2 separate regions of the Homo sapiens genome follow, and region 1 is linked to region 2. The links are contacts of gene promoters, found by promoter capture Hi-C in blood cells and fetal thymus (Javierre and others, 2016). All regions are on one chromosome and are shown on one strand. Each heading gives the region's core, a stretch centred on a gene start or on the middle of the fragment in contact. The rest is flanking DNA. Distances are from core to core; before and after follow the strand shown. Region 1 has its middle 11 kb from the start of TASOR. Region 2 holds the start of APPL1 (adaptor protein, phosphotyrosine interacting with PH domain and leucine zipper 1).

Region 1 (7,037 bases), core at 3,636-6,135, 530 kb after region 2:
GGTGAGTGTTAACTACTCCACATCTCTAACAGGAATGTGGATAAGCATCTTCTAAAGGAATTATGGATTTATACTATTTCAATACTATTTTTATCAAGGAAATGTATATGAATAGTATTTTATTTTTAATATATATTTTTTGTTGTTGCTAAGTAAGCAAAACTGATTTTTTGGACCATTATTATCATATATTCTGTCTCTAGAGCAACTCAGATTCTCAAGAGAATGGACTAATCACCAAATGGCACAAACTGCAAGTAGAATTCCTCTAGATAAGTAACTGAACACCACATTTTCTTCAATTAGATAAATGTCTGGTGTTATGTTTCTATAATTTATGTAAATTGCAACCATAGACCTACCAATTACCCTATTTAAACTTGGCTGGTTCCCCAAAGATTTCTTAGGAAAAAACTTATTATTAATTGCCTATCTTTTCAGAGCCACTGGGCCGGGGGTGGGGGAAGGGTAGGGTACTGAAACTTGAACTCGTATTTTTTGTAAAGCTCTATTTTTGAGAATCTCTTTTAACTGGAATGTTTTACATTAAATGAAAAAATAATTGGGAAAAAATATTTTTTTCACTTGGGAGTATTATGGGGAAGGACATTTGAAATGAGGCATTTAAAGCCAAACCATTATCTAACTTTTTGTTTCCAAGAGTTGAAATGGAACTTTTTGGGGAAAAGAATCTGGAATATTTAATGTTGTTAAGTCACTGGGCTTTAGGTTTAATGTTCTTTTTGAAGAGGGTTAATGTGAATTAACTCTAATACGAATCATTAAAATATAAAAACCAGGAAAAGAGCCAGGCACGGTAACTCACGCCTGGAATCCCAGCACTTTGGGAGGCCGAGGCGGGTGGATCACCTGAGGTTGGGAGTTCGAGACCAGCCTGACCAACATGGAGAAACCCTGTCTCTACTAAAAATACAAAATTAGCCAGGCGTGGTAGCGCATGCCTGTAATCCTAGCTACTCTGGGGGCTGAGGCAGGAGAATCACTTGAACCTGGGAAGTGGAGGTTGCAGTGAGCTGAGATGGCGCCATTGCACTCCAGCCTGGGCAACAAGAGTGAAACTCCATCTCAAAAAAAAAAAAAAAAAAAAAAAAATCAGGAAAAGACACAGCTAGCACTTTTGCTACTCACATATTCACATCATGGCTGGATATAGACATGCATAAGGTGGAGGGTCCAATGCCAATTGCTGGTGCTTTAATTGACCCAGGCCATATCCCATTGTAATCTTTGCGTTATCTTGCTATTATTGTATTGGTCAAATTTAGAATTTTTTCTTTTCTTTTTTTGGTGGGGGCAGGTGGAGAGAAAACAGGAAATGATTTACTCAGTTCTTTCTACACAATTAACATAAATTTAAGCATAGTTGCCTGTCAAATAACTTCCTGTATTATATACCTGAGAAAGAATTTCCCCCAAGCTATTAGTGGAACACTATATCAACCTCCTTTTTTAAAAAACAGTTTAAGGCTGGGTGTGGGGGTTCACGCCTGTAAGTAATTCCAGCACTTTGGGTGGCCGAGGTGGGAGGATCACTTGAGGCTAGGAGTTCAAGTTTGCAGTGAGCTGTGATCATGCCAGCCTGGGCTACAGAGCAAGACTCCGTCTCAAAAAAATTAAATAAATAAATAAAAATAAAAAATAATAAAAAACCGGTTTTAGATCCTTTGGTAGTTCATAAATTTCAGCACATTACCCGTCAGACATGAAAAAAAAAAGTTTCATTGATATAATTCATGCACCATACAATTCACTGACTTAAAGCATACAATTCAATCGTCTTTAAGATAATCACAGAATTATGCAACTACATTTTCATCACCTTAAAAAGAACCTGTACCCTTTAGCTATCATCCCCAAATTCCCTCATTAACCTAGCCCTAGGAAACCACTGATCTAATTTCTGTCTGTATTGATTTCCCTGTTCTGGACATTTCCTATAAACAGAATCATACCATATGCAGCATTTTGTGACTGGCTTCTTTTTCTTAGCACAGTATTTTCCAGGTTCATCCATGTTGCAGGATGTATCAGTTCTTCACTCCTTTTTATGGACAAATAATATTCCATTGTATAAATGTAAGATATCTTGTTCATCTCTTCATATGTTGATGTACTTTTGCTAATTTCTCTTAAAATCAGCATTTTGTAGCACCAACCATATAGCAAAAGGTCATGTCAAATATCTTTTTATTACCAGGCTTTTATGGACTGGGGAGAAAATGTCCAAAATTAAGTCTGAATACCTTTCTGGTACTATGAAGCACCAAATAATAAAACAATAACCTGAATCATGTGACTTAAAAGGGAAGCAGCTCTCAATTTAGTTATTGGTCAGCCAAAGAAATTGGATGACTTTGATTACTTCTGTCTGCCCAGAAATCATATATAAATCTGTAGGAGCTACGAGAAATTAGTGAAGAAACTTGTGTTTTTAAGGGAGTTGGTGGGAATATTCCTGTTCACTCAGAAAAATGAAAGGACAAAACAAGGGAGAGAAATGATACATAGAGGAATGATTAAAATGCCCAGTGGGTAACTTTGTAATTTTTCTTGATTTCCATTGAGAGTCTTGATTAACAAAGTAGCCATCCCAGAGGCCTATAAGCAAGTAGAACTGGGGTAGTTGCAAGGGTTTGCAATTAGATTTAGGAGGCAAATCTGAGTCCTGTTCCCTCACTTACTGGTGATGTTTCCTTGAGCAAGGCAGTTAAGTTACCATTTCCTCATCTGACAAATGTAACAATGTTTCTCTGACAATGCTGGGAAGATTAAATGAGGCAATGGGTATAGAAGCATCAGAAAACAAACAGGGTCAGGATGGATCTGCTTGTTTACAGCTGTAACCTCAGAAGCCCATCTTAGGGCCTGGTAGCAGGTTGAGAGAATAAGTGAAGCATTTGGTAAATTGCAAGGTGTTATTCACATGTTCTCTCTGTATTGTTACTTCTTTTCCTCCAACTTATTCACTGTCTTCCAAATTGAGTGCTGAGATGGGTTATCTTGAAAATAGGAAGTTCCAGACAACTTTCTTTTGGCCTCTTTTATCATAAAAACATAAAATCGAAGACACTTTTAATTTGAAAATTTTTTTTTTCACACATTCCACCTACGTTTGCACTTTTGTAGTGTACCACTTCCTCTTGAGCATTTTTTTTCTCTTTGTGTAACTTGGATTGTTGGCACCAGCCTCCTTCTTACTTACAGAGCTCCACCAACCACAACGTGAAGTTAGTATAAATTTAGATCTTTGTTCAGATGATAATGGCAGTGGTGTAAATGACTCTATAACTGCGTCTATACTGGCCAGTCAGCTGATAGAAGAAAACCATCACTTCCAATTCTTAAACCCTATTGATTTCAACTAGGCTTGAATTTGGCAAATGAAGCTCATCTATTTTTCAAATGCAGTAAAAAACACCTGGAACTTGTATAAATCTCGTAACAGGCATTTGAGTACATGCACTCTAATTTATATTTTGAATAAATACAGATTTCCATATAATGGATTCAGTTTGCTTAAAGCAAGATATACCAAACATTTAATGGGGATAAATCCAAATCACGTAATGTGAGACATCAACAATTTTTCTGCCAGAGAATATCAGATAGTCACTTTATCCTCAGGAGTCAAAAACATATTTATTTATTTATTTAAGTCTAGCTCTGTCGCCCAGGCTGGAGTGCAGTGGCGTGACCTCAGCTCACTGCAAGCTCCACCTCCTAGGTTCACGCCATTCTCCTGCTTCAGCCTCCCAAGTATCTGGGACTACAGGTGCCCGCCACCACGCCTGGCTAAGTTTTTTTTTTTTTTTTTGTATTTTTAGTAGAGATGGGGTTTCACCCTGTTAGCCAGGAGGGTCTTGATCTTCTGACCTCGTGATCCACCTGCCTTGGCCTCCCAAAGTGCTGGGATTACAGGCGTGAGCCACTGCGCCCGGCCCAAAAACATATTTAGTAAACACTTACTGTGTTCCAGGCACTGTGGTGAGCCCTGGGGATACCATGGTAAGCAGAACCCAGACATTGACCCTCAGTCCATGGTATGGCACAGACTGTAGTGAGAGAGACAGATTTAATTAAATAGTCCCACAAATGAGGGAGTAATTACAAATTGAGGAAATTGGGAGGTAAATGGTCTGAGTAAAAGGAGCAAAATTCTGTAAGAGCATCCAATGGGGAACTCGACCTAGAATGGGGGGCCGATTATGAAAGAAGTTCACACAGGGAAGTGAAGCTTCAGCCAAAGGAAGTGCAGTAGCTTACTGGAACTGGAGAAGAGGGTGGCACGGGGAAGAATAACATCCCACACAGGAAACATATCATGTGCTGAGGTTGATTGCATGGCCAGGGAGTTTGGCAAGTGTGCCAGACATAGGAAGAACCAAGGAGGAGCTTAGGGAAGTGAAGTGCAAGATGGAAAGGCAGGCAAAGGTCAGAATCAGTAAGGGTCCATTGCCCACATGAAGAATTCTTATCTTTGTCCCTGGAATAATGAGAATCCATAGAAAAGTTTTGTTTTTGTTTATTTAATTGAAGAATAACATCACAGAATAAAATGCAACTCTATGCATACAGTTCAATGAATACTTATATGTGTATGCCCCTGTCTGTATAACTACCACCCAGATCAAGATACAGAGCATTTCCATCATTCCAGAAAGTTCCTTCATGTCCCCTTTGAGTCAATTACCTACCACCCCCACTCCAAAAAGGGAACCACAATTCCTTTACTACCATAGATTATTTTTGTCTGTCCTTGAACGTCATGTAAATGGGATCATACAGTACATCTTCACCCCCACAAGGGAACCACAATTCTTTTATTACCATAGATTATTTTTGTCTGTCCTTGAACATCATGTAAATGGGATCATACAGTACGTCTTTCATTTAACATTATGTCTATGACATTAATCCATGGCATTGCATGTAATAAAGTCTTAGAAGGGTTTCACTCAGAAATGAAACAAAACTTAAGTGACAGCTCTTGACTTCTGGGTTTAGCTGAGGTTTGTGGTTACCAGAGTCAGCTGTGTTGGTGAGAGGACACTTGCTTCTTGTTCATTGCTAACTATATTCTTTTTTTCAATTGAATTTCTCCCTTTTGTTGCTTCTCCTCATTGCATGGAAGTTTTTCTTCCAGTCATTAACCAGGAATCAACTTCAACATGGTTTCTTGCCAAATTAAGAGGGTCTTTTTCAGGCTTCCCTAGTGTGTCCGGAATTGGTGGGTTCTTGGTCTCACTGACTTCAAGAATGAAGCCGCGGACCCTTGCGGTGAGTGTTACATCTCTTGAGGTGGCACGTCTGGAGTTTGTTCCTTCTGATGTTCGGCTGTGTTCGGAGTTTTTTCCTTCTGGTGGGTTCATGGTCTCGCTGGCTCAGGAGTGAAGCTGCAGACCTTCGCAGTGAGTGTTACAGCTCATAAAAGCAGTGTGGACCCAAAGAGTGAGCAGTAGCAAGATTTATTGCAGAGCGAAAGAACAAAGCTTCCACAGTGTGGAAGGGGACCCGAGTAGGTTGCCACTGCTGGCTAGGGCAGCCTGCTTTTATTCTCTTATCTGGCCCCACCCACATCCTGCTGATTGGTAGAGCCAAGTGGTCTGTTTTGACAGGGCGCTGACTGGTGCGTTTACAATCCCTGAGCTAGACACAGAGGTCCTCCACGTCCCCACTAGATTAGCTAGATACAGAGTGTGGACACAAAGGTTCTCCAAGGCCCCACCAGAGTAGCTAAATACAGAGTGTCGATTGGTGCATTCACAAACCCTGAGCTAGACACAGGGTGCTGATTGGTGTGTTTACAAACCTTGAGCTAGATACAGAGTGCCGATTGGTGTATTTACAATCCCTGAGCTAGACATAAAGGTTCTCCACGTCCCCACCAGACTCAGGAGCCCAGCTGGCTTCACCCAGTGGATCCCGCACTGGGGCTGCAGGTGGAGCTGCCTGCCAGTCCCGCCCCTTGCGCCCGCACTCCTCAGCCCTTGGGTGGTCGATGGAACTGGGCGCCGTGGAGCAGGGGGCGGCGCTCATCGGGGAGGCTCGGGTCAGCACAGGAGCCCATGGAGGGGGTGGGAGGCTCAGGCATGGCGGGCTGCAGGTCCTGAGTCCTGCCCCGTGGGAAGGCAGCTAAGGCCGGGTGAGAAATCGAGCGCATCGCCGGTGGGCTGGCACTGCTGGGGGACCCACTACACCCTCCGCAGCCACTGGCCCGGGTGCTAAGCCCCTCATTGCCCGGGGCCGGCAGGGCCGGCCGGCTGCTCCGAGTGTGGGGCCGCCAAGCCCGCGCCCACACGGAACTCCAGCTGGCCAGCAAGCGCCGCGGGCAGCCCGGGTTCCCGCTTGCGGCTCTCCCTCCACACCTCCCTGCAAGCTGAGGGAGCTGGCTCTGGCCTTGGCCAGCCCAGAAAGGGGCTCCCACAGTGCAGCGGTGGGCTGAAGGACTCCTCAAGTGCCGCCAAATTGGGAGCCCAGGCAGAGGAGGCGCCCAGAGCCAGTGAGGGCTGTGAGGACTGCTAGCACGCTGTCACCTCTCACTAGGACACACCTAAGAAATATTTGCTCAATGAGTAACCAGAAAAACCCTTTGGGGAAAGAGGATGACTCCTTGGAAGTAGAATTATTGTTGCTCAATATATGGAGGGAATGACAATTTCACATTTTTTAATGCATCTGAATGGACAGTGGAGTTGTAACCTTGTAATATTTTCTTCATCCATAAAATGAATCAAACTAATTAAGATCCTTAAAGTTCTATGAATTAGATGTTAGTGGTACTTTTTTGTTGACTGGACTTTATTATCTTTACTACTGTCTTTAAATGAAAATGTTAAAAAACAAAAAGCCTCCTAGCTGTGTGACCTACAAGGCTCAAGATATATGTGAGCATCAAAAATCACATCTTTTGGCCAAGCATGGTGGCTTATGCCTATAATCCTAGCACTTTGGGATGCTGAGGCAGGAGGATTGCTTGAGCCTAGGAGTTTGAGACCAGTCTGGGCAACACAGTAAGA
Region 2 (7,164 bases), core at 796-3,295:
ACATTGCACTCCAGCCTGGGCAACAAGAGCAAAACCCCGTCTCAGGAAAAAAAAAAAAAAAAAAAAAAAAAAAAGCTGGCACAGTGGCACACGCCTGTATTCCCAGCTGCTAGGGAGGCTGAGGCAGGAGGATCACTTCAGCATAGGTGTTCCAGGACACAGTGCACTACGATAGTGTCTGTGAACAGCCATTGCTCTCCAGACTGGGAAACATAGCAAGATCCCCATCTCAAAAAACAAACAAATATATTGTAAAACGGACACTAGTATGATGCATGCTTGTAAAGAAAAAAAAAAACCACAATTCTTAAGTTGTAAACTAATCTGGCAAAAACCTCAAGACATTAGATGAGTCAAGAGTTTATCTCTGCCTCACAAGTCATTTCCAGGGCAGTGTGCAATCCATTCTGAGCCGTTTATAGTCTTTATGGGCTATTAAAAAAAAAAGCCAAGTAAGAGAAGAAAGGTAAGGCAACCTGTTGAATCTTACATAATAAAAAGTAAAATGACAAAGTACACCTGACCAATTCCACAAACTTTTTGCAAATCATCTGAAACAAATACAGTTTATAACTTTATATGGAGAAATCATCAAGAAAAAAATTGAACCGAGTATACTGGCAGTCAAGATAAACCAAATGTGAGTTTCTCTTTTTGTCACTATCAGCTGTTAAGAGTACATTAGCAGCAGGCAACTGGCCTGTGAAGATAACTTTCAGAATAAAAAAGAACAAATCAATTCTACAATCAGAGCCCCATTTCAACTTGGCAATTAACATTGGCACAAAATCCATGGCAGAAGTGCCATCCAGGAAAAGGAGATCTAGACCTCTTCTGCTTTTCTTCTTTGGGGGCCATGTTCAACTGTAAAGACACACGAAATGGTGCAACTGCATTTCTAAATCAGCAACAATTCAGAAATGTTTCATTCTAAATAGTGTCCAACCAGCAACACCGTCTTAAACCGTTTAAATTATCGTGTAAAACGGCTTAGAGATGAAGTTTTCCCTATGCAAGTTACAGCCCCTGCCAACATTTTAAAAAATATAGCTGCTTTCATTCTGCAGTACTGAAAACATATTAAATGGTTACATTTTCCAAAACTGTCTTAAGCTAGAGCAACCACATCAGCATCATTCCGACGCACAGAACACAGGGCTTTTATTTTGATGAGTTTATTAAGGCCAAGTCTGCAGGGAGCAGCGCAGCAGTCGCGGAGCGGCGAAGGCACCGTCCATCCCTCGCCGTGCACAGCTCGAGTGACAGCGACCACAGTCACGGCCGCGACACGGGCACATTCGGCGGGGAGAGCGGTCTTGGGCTCCGGGACCCGTCACGGGCTTTGCCATTAGGGCTCCACACACAACCTTACAGCCTCTCCCAAAGAAAAACGATCCATTTCCTTCCTTAGCTTGCTGAGCCTCGGAAATCATTAAATAAGACTATCGGGGTTTCTCTCCCTTCTGCAATTTTTCTGAAGAGGTTCTCAGGGAGAAAATTCCAGGATCGAGATTTGGCACCTCACATCACCGCGATAAAAACGGCGCCTTTCGTCAAATAAAAAGGACCCGCGCGCGTACGTGACCGCCCGGCCCACGAGCACCAGCGGCTCGGTCTCCGCCTGCGGCCCTCGGCCCAGCCGAGCAGGCCCACGCGGGCCTTGGGCGGCGGGCCCAGCCTCCACAACTCCGGGCGCGGCCTGCGACGGGCGGTGACCTAGGGCGGCGGCGGCCCCCACCTGGGCCGGGGCGGGCACCTGCGGGAGCCGCGGAGGCGCCAGACCTGGGGTCGGCCAGCTGGGCTCTCCCTCGTCGCCCACCAGCTCCCGCGCCTCACCTGCGGGCTGTCCTCCAGCGTCTCCTCGATGGGCAGCTTGTCGATCCCCGGCATCGTGGCGGAGGGAGGGCGGTGGCAGGAGACGCAGCTGCCGCCCACAGCTCCCCGCGCCGGCCCGCCCGCCGCAGCTGACCCCGGCCCGCCCTCTCCGGCAAGGGCTGCAGCCGTCCCCGCCCGCACAGCCTTCTCCAGGCGCCGAGCGGCCGTGCGGGAAATCCCGCCCCCTCGGCCTCCCTGCCCCGCCTCCCGGCGCGTCCATTGGCTCCCGGGGACGCCCATCCGCGCTGCGGCGGTGGTCGGGAGGTTCCCGTGCGGCGCTAGGCTCTCCCGCGAGCGCGGGCGTCGGAAGCGGCGGAGGTGGCAGTGTCTGCCCTGGGATGGCCTTCCCTGCACGCGCGCGTTTGTATCTAAATCGCAGGGGACCGTCTCTTCCTCAGCTTGCCGGCGCGAGGAGCCAGAGCCTCGAGTTAGGGCCACACGGGGGAATTTGGGGCGGGTTGACTTTTCCCGCAACATATTTTGTCAGAGACCTTGGAGAAAGTCCTACTGCTGGCGCCTTTTAGTTTCCTCAGATGATAACATTCCCAACTCCGCTCGAAGCGTCCAGTCTTAATCCCCTCCAGCAGAATGGTGCTGACTAACTCAGATGTCTGAGATCCGCAGCTGTGTCAATAATAGGGCTTTCTGGCAAACTTGTGAACGTAGGCTCGAAATTGTTTTTCTGGACGCTTGAATATCAGTATATTCAGTTGAAAACATGTGATTTTGTTGCCAGTTTATCAGTTCCTACCTGGCCTCCCGAGGTCAGTCCTTCAGGACTGACGCTGCAACTCCAACTCCCATGTTTCTTTTAAATCACAAAGGAAAATATCTTTTAAAAATCAGGATACACTGATTAATTATGTTAGTAACTAATTGGCATTTGTTGAATCAAAAAGTTTTGGAAGCGTTAAATAGTTTTAGCCTCTAATTTTACAATAAAGTGAAGCTCAAAGTTGGGAATTTGACCGGATGAGGGCTACAAGCCTATCCTTTCCTCCTCCCTCTTCATCTTTCCCAACCTGTCACCCTGGCTCGTTTATGTCTCTGTATAGTTGTAGGCTTTCATCATTATACAGAGAAAATAACAAAGTAAGTAGTGTCTTCTAAACATCTAGCCATTAATTCCACCAATCCATTCCATTTTCATTCAAGAAATACCAGAGATGCTGAGTAAAGATTAATTAGCTGCCTGGTTCCACAGATACATGGGAACAAATCCAGAATAGTAGTAGCTCAAATCCAAATATAGTAACAAATAGAAGTTATATATTTTAAACGAAAATAGTAGATTTTCCCATGATCTCTTGAAAGAAAAATAAAATTATATTTTTAAAGTTTTGTTGAGTAGACTTGCATTGTAGTTTTACGGAATTATTTTTAGTGTTACAATCTTTAAAAGTTTTCCCCTTAGATTGTTTATCAGCCAGTCTCTCTCTCCCGAAGAGTTCTTTAGTTTTTGAGGAAGTTGATTTGGAGGCAGTTCTTACAATGAGTTAAGGGTTCCCAGTTGTGTTACAGTTTCTTTTTCCTTGATATCTCATTTCTACTCTGCCAACAAGAACACCATGCACCCCAGCTCTAAAGAAGGAAGACTTTCAAGGTAAGTGACCTTCCTGATTGAACTGAGTTAGATTTTAAATGAAGAAAGGTTGTGGCAACTGTTAAGAATCAGGAGTAAGTGAGGAGTGTAAACAATGTATAAGAAAGAAAAAAAAAAAGGCCTGGCGCTGTGGCTCACGCCTGTAATCCCAGCAATTTGGGAGGCCGTGGCAGCTGGATCACCTGAGGTCAGGAGTTCAAGACCAGCCTGCCCAACATGGCGAAACCCAGTCTCTACTAACAATACAAAAATTAGCCGGGCGTGGTGGCGTGCCTGTAGTCCCAGCTACTCAGGCGGCTGAGGCAGGAGACTCAGTTGAAGCCGGGAGGCCCAGGTGCAGTGAGCTGAGATCATACCACTGCGCTCCGGCCTGGGCGACAGAGCAAGACTACGTATCAAAAAAAAAAAAAAAAAGAAAAGAAAAGAAAAGTATTTGTTACCTAATTAACTTGGCCAAACCAAATAATTCCGATGAAAAATTCGATTAGTTATCTGAATTATCTGGGTGTGGTATTGTCAAGTTAAATGGTTTCCTTCTTAGTATGTTATGTACATCTAAACTGTGTTTCTGTAAAGGACTCTCAAGAGGCCATTACATTATCGCAGAATGGCAAGGAATTCTTGCCGGACTCAGCTGGTTAAAAAATAAAACAGGCTGGGCGCGGTGGGGCTCACGCCTGTAATCCCAGCACTTTGGGAGGCTGAGGCAGGCGGATCAAGAGGTCAAGAGATGGAGACCATCCTGGCCAACTGGTGAAACCCCGTCTCTACCAAAAATACAAAAATTAGCTGGGCATGGTGGCACACGCCTGTAGTTCCAGCTCTTTGGGAAGCTGAGGCAGGAGAATCGCTTGAACCCGGGAGGTGGAGGTTGCAGTGAGCCGAAACTGCACTCCAGCCTGGGCGACAGAGCGAAACTCTGTCTCAAAAACAAAAAATAAATAAAAATGAAAAAATAAAACAAACAAAAACAGGTTCACATTCAGTTGGATGGAGAGGTAGGTTTAGTCAAATCTAGTTTTAACCTATTTGTACTAGAATCCAGTTTTAACCTTCCATTTGGATTCTCTAGCTTTAGGCCACTGTATACCCTGCTCATCCAAAAATATGGTTGTATTTCCTAAGTTAAAACATCTCCAAAGCTGCAAAATTCATAGTCCTTTTTGATAACCACTTTAAGTTTATTCAGCCTACGTTTTGTGCAGTTAACCAAACTCAGTTCATTTTAAGCCAGTTTTCTTTCATACAGGAAATGAGGCTTGTTCAGAGAATGCCTTAGGGGTTACTGGCGACTCGTGTGGGTAGTAGAGTAAAAACTTTGGGCAACTGGTTAATTTTATGGAAAGCAAGTCAGGATTAAACAACATCCACTAAAGATTTCTTTGAGATGTTTCACATATATACCTTGAGACATTTCACACGTATAATTTACAACAAAAGGACGTACAGTCTTGTAAATAGAGTTGTTAATTATTAGTCTCCTAAAATTATATTTGGTCTTATAATTAGGTTTTTACATGATACTCCTTGAAGTTCTGGTCTGTGATCTGTAATAGGAAAGAATCCAATAACCCAAGTGATGCTGGTGCTTTACTTTTAAAAATTATCCCTTTAGGTCAGTGGTTTCCAAACTTAATGCACACATAAAAGTTATCTGGGAAGGTTGTTAGCATACAGATTCCTGAGCCCTGCTGGAAGATTTTGGTGTAGTAGGTCAGAGTCAGGGCTGGGAATCTCTCCAGTTAAGTCTGAAGTGGGTAATCCACAAACCACATGAGGAAAAACTCTATCCAAGATGGAGAATGATCATTTCCCTTTCCTAAATCACTTTGTATTTAAAAAAAATTTTTAAAGAGTCAGGTGGGCACAGTAGCTCATGCTTGTAATCCTAGCACTTTGGGAGGTCAAGGTGGAAGGATTGCTTAAGCTCTGGAGTTTGAGACTAGCCTGGGCAACACAGAGACACCATCTCTACAAAAAAAAATTAAATTAAATTAAAATTTTAAAAAATTGGCCTGGTGCAGTGGCTCATGCCTGTAATCCCAGCACTTCGGGAGGCCGAGGCGGGTGGATCACCTGAGGTCAAGAGTTCAAGACCAGGCTGGGCAACATAGTGAAACCCCGTCTCTGCAAAAATTAGCTGGATGTGGTGGCAGGTTCCTATTATCCCAGCTACTCGGGAGGCTGAGGCAGGAGAATCGCTTGAACTTGGGAGGCGGAGGTTGCAGTGAGCCGAAATCACACCACTGCACTCCAACCTGGGTGACAAAGCGAGACTCAGTCTAAATTAAAACAAAAATTAACAAAAAATAAAGAGTCAAGCAAACATTTAGAAAAGGAATCCTAGATTCCAGCTAAGGATGGTGAGGACATGATTTCCAGGCTAACGAGCTGGAAACCACCTACTCACAAATATTCTCTAAAAGACTCCATCAATCTAAAATTCTGGGAAATTCATACTCCTTTTAAAGAGTGTAATGTATAATGCAAAAAATTCTGGTTGTTACCTAGTAAATCACTCCTTAATAGGACTAACTTTAACAGATAATTCATTATTTTCTTAATACCAGCTGAGATAAAGCAGATTCAGGAAAGAGCAGATTTCAAGAAAATTGATAATTTGGGAACTTCAGTCATTTAATCTATTTTAAAACATTAGAGCCAGTAGCAGAGTAGGGGGAAGCTTTGGACAATTGGAGGGTAAAACAAAAAGTTCTGAGGAATGGGTTGCAAAAAGAGGTGGGAGGGCACTAAGGACCAACTGGTTGGTTCTTCATTGTGCCACTGCAAACTAGCTTCTGCCTTTGACCTTGACCTTGATGTCACTTTTACTCATTGCCACAGCATCCTTAGAATGTGGGACAATTCTGCAGCTTCAACTTTCTTGATGGTAAAAAGAAAAAAAAAAACTTCTAGGAAAATTGTATATGCTTTTGTTTATCTATGGTTGCCTTGATTCCTTTTTAGAAGAACACATTAATTAATTTGTCTGAGCAGGCCAAGAACTTTAACACAAAATAGCATCATAGCCCTTCTGTGGAGAGGTAGATGAGAACATGGTTATGAGCTAATAAGCTTGGGCTGTGATTTAAATTCTGGCTCCACTGTTTAGTAGCTCTGTGACTTAAGTAAGGTTATTTAACTTCTCTGTTTCTCCATTCTGCCATCTGAAAAATGGAGCTTAATACTAGAGAACTTACATTAATAGTATTGTTAAGATGATTAATGAGCTTTTAGAGTAGCTCCTAGCGCAATAAGCATTCAGTAAAAATTATCTTTTTCATTATCAACTATTAAATATTAAAATATTTTAATACATTTAAGGAAGCTTTTTTGTCTCTATCATATTTTTTTAAAAACTAATATTTTTTAAATCAGAAGATTGGGCTCATTACCTTAGAGAATCCTGATGCTATTTTAAATAACATTAGTTACTCTTGCTAATGTTTTATCACTTTGATTTGGGGGCTTTTGAGGCCAAAACCAAAATTTCAAAATCAATAAATATGTACTTTGAAATTCTGGAGGAAAAGTGTACCAAAACAATTACCAAAATAGCCAAGATTATTGCCATTTTGAGGTTTTTAGGAGTTTTTGTTTTGTTTTTTGTTTTGTTTTTTGTTTGGCGGGTGGTGAGTGGGTAGAGGTGCCCCAAAGTTAAAAGATTTTCATGACACTTACCCCAC

Evidence for each region. Contacts are between HindIII fragments. The CHiCAGO score rates a contact against its expected background, and 5 or more counts as called.
Region 1: a fragment that was not itself captured here is called in contact with the fragment with the promoter of APPL1 in region 2 in 1 of 17 cell types (M0 macrophages); the score reaches 6.8 in M0 macrophages.

Annotation. Positions count from the first base shown.
Region 1 is chr3:56,691,221-56,698,257 of GRCh38, reverse strand. No RefSeq gene overlaps it. Among named protein-coding and RNA genes, the nearest start is that of TASOR, 11 kb to the right of the region's middle. The HindIII fragment of the contact is 1,255 bases long and covers 4,258-5,512 here.
Region 2 is chr3:57,222,610-57,229,773 of GRCh38, reverse strand. It overlaps APPL1 (adaptor protein, phosphotyrosine interacting with PH domain and leucine zipper 1), which reads right to left and starts at 2,045. Exons shown (of 22, transcript NM_012096.3): 1 at 1,837-2,045. The coding sequence starts at 1,890. It also overlaps a transcript of HESX1 not described here. RefSeq lists a silencer at 1,588-2,247. The HindIII fragment of the contact is 8,451 bases long and covers 1-6,163 here.